Regions from separate parts of the Homo sapiens genome. Here region 2 is linked to region 1. The links are contacts of gene promoters, found by promoter capture Hi-C in blood cells and fetal thymus (Javierre and others, 2016). All regions are on one chromosome and are shown on one strand. The core of a region is centred on a gene start or on the middle of the fragment in contact, and the rest is flanking DNA. Distances in the headings are between cores, read along the strand shown. Region 1 holds the start of GZMB (granzyme B). Region 2 overlaps LINC02286 (long intergenic non-protein coding RNA 2286).

Evidence for each region. The method cuts DNA at HindIII sites, captures the fragments that hold promoters and counts their contacts. A CHiCAGO score of 5 or more calls a contact.
Region 2: a contact is called between a fragment that was not itself captured here and the fragment with the promoter of GZMB in region 1, in 1 of 17 cell types (total CD8 T cells). The highest score is 5.7, in total CD8 T cells.

What each region holds. Positions count from the first base shown.
Region 1 is chr14:24,632,639-24,635,596 of GRCh38, forward strand. It overlaps GZMB (granzyme B), which reads right to left and starts at 1,552. Exons shown (of 5, transcript NM_004131.6): 1 at 1,468-1,552; 2 at 277-424. The coding sequence starts at 1,522. GZMH-AS1 (GZMH and GMZB antisense RNA 1) reads left to right here and starts at 464. Exons shown (of 3, transcript XR_007064087.1): 1 at 464-710; 2 at 1,658-2,958. RefSeq lists an enhancer at 931-2,130. The HindIII fragment of the contact is 9,884 bases long and covers 1-2,958 here.
Region 2 is chr14:25,133,122-25,136,079 of GRCh38, forward strand. The region is part of intron 3 of LINC02286 (long intergenic non-protein coding RNA 2286); the gene reads right to left. Among named protein-coding and RNA genes, the nearest start is that of LINC02286, 22 kb to the right of the region's middle. RefSeq lists a silencer at 1-36. The HindIII fragment of the contact is 772 bases long and covers 1,193-1,964 here.

The DNA.
Region 1 (2,958 bases), core at 302-2,801:
AGAAACACAGGTGGAATTGCTTCAGTTTGTATTCTATGCCAAAGTATGCCCCCAGTTCTAAATATGGCAGGCTTGGTCACTCTGCTGTTTCTTACTTCAGCAGCACCTCTGGAACCAACCTTCCCCTCTCTCCACAAACTTAACTGCCCTTTTCTCACCCTCTAAGGAGACCTCCTGGCATGTGTGTTCACAGGAGCCCAGGGAGCTCCTTGGGAAGAAGGCAGGGGTCTCTGTGGAGTGTTTCCAGGAGGGTGTGGGCTGTTTTCTGCTCCTCACCTTCCCCAACAGTGAGCAGCTGTCAGCACGAAGTCGTCTCGTATCAGGAAGCCACCGCACCTCTTCAGAGACTTCTGATCCCAGATCATAAGATAAGCCATGTAGGGGCGGGAGTGGGGCTTGGCCTCATGTCCCCCGATGATCTCCCCTGAAGGAAAAGTCTGTCTGCTTGTGGGCACCCATGGAATCTGCTGGGTGGGCACCTGCTTAGTGGCTCCAGAACTCCTGGGCATTTGGGAGCCTGGGATAGCCTGGAGTTGGGAGTGGCCTGGAGGAAGGGGCTTCAATTTCCTGCTCTGAAAAAGGGAAGAACAGCAGACTTTGGTCTGTAAATCTTTCTTCCATATGTAGTTGAAGGCGAGCATACCTGTCTTAGGGACAGTGAAATCCCAGAGGCTCCTGATCATTCCTCTCCTGACTTTGCTTTGTTTCAGGTGAGTTTCCAAGACCCTTATGAGTCCTGTGGTGTCTAGGATAGTGCTGCTTTCTAATGGCCAGGGTGTAAGTGGAGGGATCTAGATACTGTCATATCCTGTTTCCTAGAGCCTGACATGTAGTGGGTGCCCAGTAAATGTTCATGGCTGCATGATGGACTGGCTCCAGTTAGCCTCTGGATGAGGGCTGGTAGAGCAGTGCTGGTGGAATTCTAGAAAGCAGGGAAGCTGGGGCCTGCCGTAGTGCCTCATCCTTGGAAAGAGGGGAGCCACCAAAGGCCAGGGAAGAAAAGCAGAGTTGGAGAATGGGACTGAGCAAACACATTAACAGTGTTCTGAGGACAGTGATTGTACCAATTCTGCTGTCAGCTGAGCTCTGGGTTTCTCTCCTAAGTAGACAGTGAGAGAAGCACCTGTCTTATCCCAGAAACAGAAGCCAGGCCTACTCTAGAATAATTTAATATTTCTCTTTTCTAGTTTCCCATCCTCTGCCATTTACTTCTAGGAAAGTCCTACTCTCCAGGTGACAAAGGTGGGCTCTGGGGAAGGGATAGTACCCACTGGCTCTTCTTGAGAATGGCCTGCTGCTCTGCCATTCCTGCTGATAGCTTATCCAGCATCACACTTGGGGGGTCTTGGTAGAATGGGAGCTGGAGTTCAGAACATTCCTGGTAGATAGATGGATCAGGAATGTGGAGAAAGGGCAGGAGACCTGTGGGATGGGGTTGGGCCCCCGAGGGTGGAGACGGTCACTCACCTGCATCTGCCCTGGGCAGCAGGAGGAAGGCCAGCAGAAGCAGGATTGGTTGCATCTTCTCAGGAAGGCTGCCCTGGTTGGAGCTGCTGTTGTTTCCTCCTTGCTCTCTTTTAGCTCTTGGGAGAGGAAAGAGGTGGAGCAGGCTCAGTGACTTCATGTTCCCCTCTGGTTTTGTGGTGTCTCATCACAGATTTTCTGTAAATGCTGCCCACCCCCACTGCCTCTGCCTGATGACGTCCTCTGGGTGCTTGTGTGAGAATCATGCAGTGACCACATCATCACCCACAGCTGATGACTCAGAGTGGACCACCTATTCAGCCCAGAGCAGGAACCCAAGCCTATGAAGTGAATTGTAGGATGTGGTATCAGCCAGTAGAGGTACTGGAGCACCAGAAACCTGAGTTCCCAGTGATAGAACCGCCAATGCCTCATGGCCATGCTGCTAAATCCATCAGGATAGTTTCTTTAGCAGGTATGTGTTTGAGCCCTTCTGTTGTGCTAGAACCAAGCATGTTGGAGATGTGTCTCCTTCACTTAGAGAGCTGACCATCTGGTTGAAGAGACGGAAATGCCAGGAGCCAGAGTACAGTTTGGGGAGGGCTATGGTAGCACAATACACAAGGCAGTAACAAAGCATGGCCACCATCTACTAGACCCATCTAGCAACCCATTTATTATCATAGCTTCCTTTCTAGAGAATTTCTAACATCCCTTATTTAGTTACAAATGTTTAGTGTGAGAGTCCACCTCTTTTCTGAATGCTTTCAATAAAAGTCCTGTACTTGACATTTTATTGGGCTAGATTAATGAATTGCTAGGAGTCAAATCCACTTTGGGTAGGCTGGGGTCAGTCTACTCAAGCCACTAGAACCAAGAATGAGAAAGGGCTGGTTCTCTAAAGGACGTTTGTGGTGCTAAATTGCTGATACCATATGAAGTGAGGAAGCATGCCAGGCAGCCAAAGATCAGTAGTTGTGTTGTTTAGTATTCTGTCTCCTGTCCAGAGAGCCACACTTCTTACATAGCAGGCTCAGCACATAACAGGCTCACAGTAAACATTTGCTAAACAAACTACACTAATGCTATCATTATAATGGATGTGAAAGATTGTTGTTTCTGAACAGCCCGTGCCCAATTCTGTTAAAAGACAACTAAGTCTCTCTACATGGTTCGATTCTTGTGATTTGTTTCCACCTTTATATTTTCTGTGAGGAAATTTTTCTATGAGGAATGGTATATCTCAAAATATAGAATTCCAGTGTAAACGTCTTCCTTGTCAATAGCAAGCCAACTACATTTATCAAACTTCTATTTTTTGAACCTAGCTTGCCCCATAGTAGACGTTTTAAAAATAATTTTTTCTGATTATAGTCATAATATATGTTTGTTAAGAAAATTTGGAAAGTAGGAAGGGAAAATATCACTTTTTAACCTGTCTCCCACAGACTGACTGTTACCATAAGCAGTGTGTTTTAAATACTTGGGATCACA
Region 2 (2,958 bases), core at 329-2,828, 500 kb after region 1:
CCAGGGACAAAGCCCAGTGTGTACATGGAGAAGGCTTAAAGAAGCCGATACCGTGCCTCTTGATAATAGGGAATATGAAAACTTGATAAATTAATTGAAAAGTGAAGAGAAGTGGCGAATTCAAATTTGTACGGCAGTTCTAAGTGATAATTAGAATAAAATCATTAGACAAAAAGGAAAAATATATCTAGTTCTAAAGCGTTAGCTTTTATCTTGCTAGAAAACTCAGCTGTCTAGAAACTCACATTCCTAAGCGTCTGGATTGAGATTTTCTTTTGGTTTTCATTCATCAGGGAATGAAGTGAAAGGATTGAATTTTCACGTTACACTTAACTCAGGCTTGATAAGAGTCTGGAGGAGACAGTCTCTAATAATCCTATAATCCTAGATGTCCTGTCTATACCTTTTAACATCTCTGCATTTACTCCTTGAGTTTCTTGTGGTTGAGGAAGGATTTTGAAAGGGAGATGATGAGAAAAACATCACTCATATTAGTTACTGACTGAATTACATCCATTTCTGGTCAGTCGTCATTAGGTAAAGCTCTAAATTTCAATCAGGATCTTGGCTAATTGTACTTTGGATTTGATAAGGAGTCATTGAAAAGTGAGCAATGAATAAGATTAAAGCTAGGCATTTCTTCTTTTTAAACTAATGTATCATTCATTATTGGTTTAGTGCTCATCAGGTTTTGGTAAATAAATAAAAATCTTAGATTTGGAAAGTTCTACAGTGGTCATTTAGTTCAACCTTTTATTCCCAGGCAGGAGACCTTTTCTGCAAAATACCTGACTTTTTGTGACAGAAGATCAATCAATTCAGGATCTGCTAAAACACACCTAGGGATGTAAAACTCACCACTTTGTGAAGCAGAACATTCACCTAATATTCAGAGTGTAGCCTGGGGGTAGCAACGGGGCATCCCTGGAGAGTTAGTAGGAAATGCTCGATCTGAGTCCCTATCCCAGACTTGCTGAATCTGAATCTTCCCTTGACAGGATTCCTGGGTACTGGGTACTCATATATACGTAATGTTTGAAAAGCACTGGCTAATTCTATCGTTAGATGGTTTCAAATGTTAAATGGTTTCAAACTGACATCTTACTAAAACCTAATGTTCTGGTGTGGTCTATGAACCCATCCCCACAGCCTCGGCTGTTAGCCCAGCTTCTGGCCATTCCTGCAGTTATAAAGCTTTGGCCGCCACTGCCATTGTGGCCACCTCATCTCCTTACACTCAGTAGTTTCTGACTTTCCTGGGTGTGACGGCTGGGCTTTGGCACAGCCTTGGTCACATTTTCTGTGGTAGGAGCTGTGGCAACTCCAGGGCTTGGGCCAGATCAGATCCTGCTGCACCACTGAGGCTCTGGTTCTCTCAGTGCCCCTTGAAGGGGTAGGAGAAGGTTACTAAGAAGTTTAGGGGTATTTCACTTTGGGAGGCTGAGGAGGGCGGATCGCTTGAGATAGGGAGTTTGAGACCAGCCTGGCCAGCATGGTGAAACCCTATCTTTACTAAAAATTCAAAAATTAGCTGGGCATGGTGGCACATACCTGGAGTCCCAGCTACTGGGGAGGCTGAGACAGGAGAATCCCTTGAGCCCAGGAGGCGGAGGTTGCAGTGAGCTGAGATCATACCACTGCACTCCAGCCTGGGTGACAGAGTGAGACTCTGTCTCAAAACAAAACAAAACAAAAAGAAGTGTAGGGATATTTGTGCCATGTGGAGAGTGAAGAGTCAGGAAGTATCCGGGAAATAAATGACTAGCTCCTCTTCTTCCTGCTGACTGCTGCATAGTGCAGTGCCTGCCCTGCTTCTGCAGAGACGTGTGACCAGCGGTGTTTCTTGGGAAGCTGTGTACAGCCTGATAACATACTATTTTTTTCTTGCTCTCCCTCCTTCCTTGCCATGCATGTCTTTTTTTTTTTTTTTTACCTTTTGCCCCCAGAGAAAGCAGTAATGCCTAAGCTTTGCCTTAGAGTCTGTTTTCTAAGGAACCTAGACTAAGACATCTGCCCTGTATATGTTTCACTCACTGCTTCTAATTCTGCCATCTGTCTGGCTTTGGAATGGTCAACATCTTTCATATACTTTCTTCCTTCAAATTCTACAATGCAGCTACCAGGCCTTCTCTTTTCTTGGTCAAACACCCTCAGCTTCTTTTAATGATTCCTCAAAATGCAGTTTTAGTCTCTCACCTCTTGCCTCAGTTTAATATGTCATTGTCTTAAATTGTGGCTCCTTGACTGCTCCGTTGGGTTTGGTCAGTGCAGGGCTGAGTTCATGATGGGAGGATGGGCTTCTCATTTCCTTTATTGTGGGTATCATACTATTAATACAATAAATACAGCTATCCTGACCTGGACCTATTCTTGTGGGAATGCTGGCTATTTGGGTTGTGGTGACCTGACCGGTTAAAAATGAGCTTAGGGAAATTAGATTGAGAGTGAGCAAGGTTTAGCCTTCTGTGTCAGCTTCCGAGGAAGGCCAGGGTCCTCCATTGGCCCTGGAGTTCTTTAGGATGTCTGCTTTTTCTTAAAGATAAATTTGTGTTGACTCCCAAGGCAGAGGTGGTGAGATGAGGTGTTCACGTTACTTCCCAGGAGCTTTGCCCTCCTTGGGGTTAGAGTCTTCATTTTCTATTGCCTAGACAAACCCAGAGCCAGAGGATTCCTTAAAAACATTCAAGATTGTACCACATTCACAAGAATGTGAATCTCGGAGGATGACCTAATAGCCATATGAACTGTTCTAAAGTCTAGAACATCTTGTTATTCTGGATCCCCCCCCCTTTTTTTTTTTTTTAAAAAAAAAAGACTCTATCCCCTACCAAGTTTTAGAAACTTTTATGCTGTATGAATCGGCATTAGCTGAGTGCTTATAGGGAGCAAGCACTGTACCAACTTCATGGGAAGCACAGATAAAGGTAAGAGATAATGCCTCCAGGGTCTTGTGAAGGC